2 separate regions of the Homo sapiens genome follow, and region 1 is linked to region 2. The links are contacts of gene promoters, found by promoter capture Hi-C in human tissues and cell types (Jung and others, 2019). All regions are on one chromosome and are shown on one strand. Each heading gives the region's core, a stretch centred on a gene start or on the middle of the fragment in contact. The rest is flanking DNA. Distances are from core to core; before and after follow the strand shown. Region 1 overlaps POC1A (POC1 centriolar protein A). Region 2 holds the start of POC1A (POC1 centriolar protein A).

What was found. The method cuts DNA at HindIII sites, captures the fragments that hold promoters and counts their contacts. A contact is called where the count stands out against the background at its distance.
Region 1: a contact is called between a fragment that was not itself captured here and the fragment with the promoter of POC1A in region 2, in 1 of the 25 tissues and cell types used here (dorsolateral prefrontal cortex).

What each region holds. Positions count from the first base shown.
Region 1 is chr3:52,108,975-52,112,002 of GRCh38, reverse strand. All of the region lies in intron 9 of POC1A (POC1 centriolar protein A), which reads left to right. Among named protein-coding and RNA genes, the nearest start is that of POC1A, 44 kb to the left of the region's middle. The HindIII fragment of the contact is 6,699 bases long and covers 1-3,028 here.
Region 2 is chr3:52,153,126-52,156,026 of GRCh38, reverse strand. It overlaps POC1A (POC1 centriolar protein A), which reads left to right and starts at 1,604. Exons shown (of 11, transcript NM_015426.5): 1 at 1,604-1,672. The coding sequence starts at 1,655. RefSeq lists enhancers at 257-1,233, 1,234-2,211. The HindIII fragment of the contact is 12,174 bases long and covers 1-2,901 here.

The sequences.
Region 1 (3,028 bases), core at 286-2,785, 44 kb after region 2:
GCCTCTGCCAGCCCTGTTGTTCTGTCCCAGCTTCTGTCCTGCCCCTTAGTACTCCTGCCATTAGTCCAGTCACCTATTCTTGAATCTGTGTTCTCCAGGCCACCTGTCTCCTGTGTTATCCTTGGTGTCTCCCTTGCTGTCTTGATGTCCTGTCTCCCACTTCTCACCCTGCACATGTGGATGCCTAGGCCAGCTCCCATCCTCCAGACAGCCTGCTAGACTTTAGGGAAGCAGATGGGTGAGAGTCTCTGTCTGAGCCAGAGATGGCTTGGGTGTATATGGCTTAACATTTGAACCCCAGATGAAGGTCTTATTTGCAGAGCCTCTTTTTTTTTTTTTTTTTTTTTTTTAATTTTGAGACAGAGTCTAGCCATTCTTGCCTAGGCTGGAATGCAATAGCGCGATCTCGGCTTACTGTAACCTATTCCTTCCAGTTCAAGAGATTCTCCTGCCTCAGCCTCCTGAGTAGCTGGGATTACAGGCACCTGCCACTACACCTGGCTAATTTTTGTATTTTTAGTAGAGACAGGGTTTCACCATGTTGGCCAGGCTTGTCACAAACTCTTGACCTCTGGTGATCTGCCCGCCTTGGCCTCCCAAAGTGTTGGGATTACAGGCATGAGCCACCGTGCCCGGCCTGCAGAGCCTCTTGAAGAGGTGCCTCCAGGTAGCAAGAGCAGAGACAAGCCCTGAAACAGCGATTAGGGTAGAGGTGGCAAGGTTGGAGTGGAAGCCAGAACTCCCTTCTCTGAACTGCCCCCTTGAGGGGCTAATGGTGTTTCCTGTCACTAGAAAAATTTCCATCCATTCTAAAAGCAAGTAGGTTCCTCTCCAGAGGAGAGTTCATGATGTTGAGGAAGGAAGGCCTATTTAATGACTTAAACCAATGGGAGGTGTGTTCTCAGACATCCAGGGAAAAGCATATTAAGACAATCACAGTATCAGGAAGACAGAGCAACCTGACTCAGGAACTCAGACAAAGGCTGGAGGCCCTTGGGTCCAGCTCTGCGTGCATCAGTACACATTTGGCATATAAACCCAGGCACACACACTCCTTTGAGAGCTTCGTTATCTCTTTCGAGAGTTCCAGAACTGTTTTGGGTTTTCCTTTTCCCCTGGCAGCCAAAGCTTGGGCTTAGGGTTATTGGAGCTTCCACATGTGCATGTGGGGAAATGAACCTGAGTCACAGGACAGAAAGTGGAGTCTCAACACTGTGATGCTTTCCTACAAGGCACACATGGCCCCAGGCAGAGCCAGGCTGCATGCCTTGAAGGACCTTTTGCTTCACACACTGGGGCCACTGCTATGACACTGCCTTTTTGCCAATAGTGATGACAGGCAATCTAAAGCCCCATCATCACCTCTCCACAGGAGAGCCCACAGAGGCCACAAGAATCGTCTTGTAACAATTGTTTGCTGCAAAGCAGAGAGGGTGCACAAGAACCGAGGGCTTTGGCATTTAAGGATCTTTCTTCCCTTTTATTTTGTTCTTTTGTTTTCATTCTATTTTTTTAAGCTCAGAAACCTGAAAATGAAATAAATGAGCCACAGGTAGAAATAAACCTGTCGCTTAAGTCTGACTGATTTTTGGGGCCACCATTCACTGCTCCTAGTGTTGTTGCGCTCATCCTTATAGTCTCTTTCCAGATGGCACCTCCTCCATGCAGGCTTCCTTGGGAGGCTGGCAGCTGGTGAGTTCTTCCTGCTCCACCTGCCTGGAGCACTCTCCTACCTGGAGCAGCCCCGCTCTCCTGTTGTCTGTTATTTACAGACCTAACTTTTCTCCCTGGAGGGCTGGGGCCTTGCTCTTGCCATGGTGCTCAGTATGTGTCTGACACATAAAAAATGCTCAGGAAGTCAAAGCATTCTCACGTCTGTGGGCAGCATAAGTTGAGTGTGTGAGGCTAGAGGCGGGCTGTCTTTCCTTTTGGCATTTTTGATGGTCTCAGACTAAAAGAAGGAAGCTACCTTCTGGCCTTATTTGTCAGTTTTGGGGGGCAGATGACATGGGGTGGTGTGGGCAGTGGCAGGGCAACAGAGGGTGGTAGAGTCTGCATGCCTAGATTAGAAGTTTCAGAACTTCTTTTCATTTTAAATGGAAAAAAACCCTTTGTGGTTTATATTTTCCAGATTGGACAGCAGCATTGCCATGTGGTGTAAGGGTGTTGGATAGTGCTTGTGTTTATGTTCTTATTGGTTGCCATGGAAAAAAAATCAGAATAGATGGTTTCCATGGAGATTATCTTACAATTAGTTTCTTTGAAGGTCCGGACATTGCTGCAGGATTCGCTGAGTACTCGTTGCCATCAGGGGCTTTCTCTGTGGCAGTGCTAAAGGCTGGTCAGAACGTTCCGTGGACTTAGACAAAGTCATCTGCCTCCTATGCTTGCAAATCCCAGGACACCAGAGTGGAGGTGATCCTGTGGCTGAGCTTCCTCTTGGAGTCCCACTTGCCTTGGATCAGCTCCGCAGCTCCTTTCAGTCACCAGGAAGGTTTTTTTTTTTGTTTGTTTGTTTTAATTAAACAAAACAAAACAAAACAAAAACCTTTGTATTGTGGAAATTTCAAGCTAGCACAAAAGATAGAATAATGTAACAAACCCCATGTACCACTCACCTAGCTTCAACATTCTGCTAATCTCATTTCATCTGTTTCCCCCACATTTTAAAGAAGAGTTTGAGTGGTTTTAAAAATCCCAGATATATCATTTTTTACTCCAAATAAGGCCATTTCTTAGTTATATAATAGCAGTGCTCTTATCACATCCAATGAAATTAATAGTTCCTTCATATCAGATATCTAGTCCACATTCACATTTTCCCACATTGTGTCATTGTTCAAATAAGGATGCGGAAAGCTTTGAGAAAACCCATGTTCTCTGCTCCCCCTTCCCCGACCCATGGTTCTGGTAGGCGGAGTAGCTGAGGGGGCTTTGGCCTGGAGCTGTCTTGGGCTTGGGGAAGGGGGCGCGTCTGGGCTCACACCACACTCCTGATGTCCTCCAGGAGAGTTTGGTACTGTGAGCT
Region 2 (2,901 bases), core at 355-2,854:
CTGGGCACAGCATGGTTTTATACATTTTAGGGAGACAAAATACATCAATCAATACATGTAAGATTTACATTGGTTTGATCTGGAAGGACAAGACAACTCGAAGTGGGAAACTTCCAGGTCATTGGTAGATTTAAACATATTCTGATTGGCAATTGGTTGAAATAATTATTATCAGTAGAAAGGGATATCTCGGTTAAGATAAGGGGTTATGGAGACCAAGGTTTTACCATGCAGATGAAGCCTCCAGGTAGCAGGTTTCAGAGAAAATAGATCGTAAATGTTTCTTATCAGACTTAAGGTTTTTGTTGATGTTAATGCTGGAGGGTATAATGAGGCATGTCCAACCCCCACTTCCCATCATGGCCTGAACCACTCTTTCAGGTTAAATTTGAGTGCCCTGGCCAAGCAGGGAGTCTATTCAGATGGTTGCTGGTGGCCTTCAAATTTTATTTTATATATATATATATTTTTTGAGACGGAGTCTCCCTCTGTTGCCCAGGCTGGAGTGCAGCGGCAACATCTAGGCTCACTGCAATCTCTGCCTCCGGAGTTCGAACAATTCTCCTCCCTCAGCCTCCCGAGTAGCTGGGTTTACAGGCGCGTGCCACCACGCCCGGCTAATTTTTGTATTTTTAGTAGACATGGGGTTTCACCATGTTGGCCAGGCTGGTCTCATACTCCTGACCTCAGGTGATCCACCCACCTCGGCCTCCCAAAGTGGCAAAGTGCTGAGATTACAGGCGTGAGCCACTGAGCCCGGCCTCTCCTTCTTTTAAAGACTGGGTTTCTAACAGCTTCTGAGGCCTTAAGGATCCTGACAGGGCCGGGCTGCACCACACTCCCTCGTGTTACAAATGGGGAAACCGGGGCACAGAGCAGAGGCGTTTTTCCTGAGATCACACAGCCAATCAGGGCGAGAACTGAGAATCGAACCTTGATCTCTCCACTCCATGATTGTGATTCCGAGTAACTCATGTTATTTTAAATCGACACTTGTCTTAAGAACGTTCGGACGGCGAACCACTGAGAGTTCCCGAGGGGCGAATACTCAGCTCTCAATAGGTTCCTGCGGGGAAAATCTGGCTGCGCCGGCGCGCGCGGGTGCTTTAACGCAATCTGGTTACAGCAACCCACGTGTCCTCCGCTTCCGGGATCCTTAAGGCCGTCGCTTCGGGTGGTAAAACCCGGCCCGCCCTCTTGTTGCCCAGGCTGGAATGCAATGGTGCAATCTCATGTTGGGAAGTGTAGCTCCACCTTCCTCCAGACATAGGGGCGTGGGCGGCTTGGAACTGCATTTCCCAGGAGGCTGCGCTCGCCGTTAGAGTAGCCGGACGACGGGCTGGTGGGGTGAACCCTTCATCCTGGGTCTTTTAATTTCTCAGGCGGAACGAGTGGCGGCGGACAGAGGCTTTTGGCTGCGCTGTCTGTGGGTTGTCTGGGCTTGGGGAACTGGGCACGGAGACCGTGGCGCCGGCCGCCGGTCATACAGCTCTGCTTCCAGTCGTCGGGCAAAAAGCTGAGGCGCTTCTCCTTTAATTGCGGTGGGCGGGGCGTGCCGACGCGGCCCGCGTTGCTATTGGTGGCCGTTGGGGGCGCGGAAACTGAACGGGCCGCAACGGCCACCGCAGCTGCCTTCGGCGCCGCCAGCCCCGCCATGGCTGCGCCCTGCGCGGTAAGCCCAGCCGAGAGCAACTCCCCAGGCCTCAGTCTCCCCGCTGGGACACTGGGCGCCTAATGGCCAGAGCGATGGCTGCGAGGGGCGGGCGGGGCGCCAGGTTCCAGGGTGGTCCTCTTCAGGTCCAGTTTACTGTCTGCGCAGGGGGCGCTGGGTCGGGCACTTTCTGAGCGCCTCCTGCGTGCCAGGCCCTGCGCTGGGTTTCTGGAGCGAACAAACAGGCCTCTGCCTCCATAGTTTGCATCCTAGCGAGGGACACACGACCAAGTCCCGACTCATGTGTGACCTGGGGCCGGTATCGGGCCTCTCTAGCCATTCTCCACGTCCTTAGCAGTGGGTGGCTGCGTGGGGTCTTGTTGAGGGTACACCCTGCTCCAGCAGGTAGGTACAGCAGGACGCTGGGATGCCCGGGCCTGCAGTGTGAGCGGGGCGGAGCCGCCCTCTCTGAGTTCACATTCCTCCAGAAGTCCTCATTTCGAGAGATTCCTTTGAACGGGCAAGGCCCTCTGGCTGATTGGAGAGTCAGGGAGGCTGGGTGGTAGCCTGTGATGCCCTGAGGCACTTGAGGACATGGACGGAGATTCCAGGCTAGGATACAGACCTTTTGACTCCTAATCTGGTACTCTACCTCCCTTCCTGTCCCCTCATGTATAAACCACTGTTGAGGGAGATGAGGCCCACATGCAGGGAACTACAGAGGGGAGGCGGTGTTGAGAGATACCATGGGACCTACTGGTCAGGGGTGGACCTGAACTTGCCTCTGCCCACTGAGCCTAGGGGCGGACACTCTCTTACGCATGTTCTTTCAAGAAGCTTAGGTGAGAGCAGAAGGCTCTGTTGGGGACCCTCCCCCAGCTGCTCCTCCCTCTGTTGTTGAAAGGAGACTCTGACAGGTGCGTTAGGGGTGGAGCTGGGCACAAGGCCATAGGGCCTTTGTTCTGGTTACTGCTCTGTAGGGTGGCAGTGGCTTTGCTGTGCCCCAAGGACATCCTTTCCCAGGAGGAGCCTTTGGGCTTCCTGGAGCACCCAAAATGCTTCTTTGAGGTTTCTGATACTTAGAGTAGGGGGAGATGTTTGGATGGCTGAATTATAACCCTTCAAGTGTTAAGACACAAGCTGCTATTGGATGGAGAGAGTCTCCGGAGTATTCTCTCTGGTGTTTTAACTTTATTAAGTTATTCATACACCACAGAATTCACCTTTTAAAGTGTACATTTCAGTAGTTT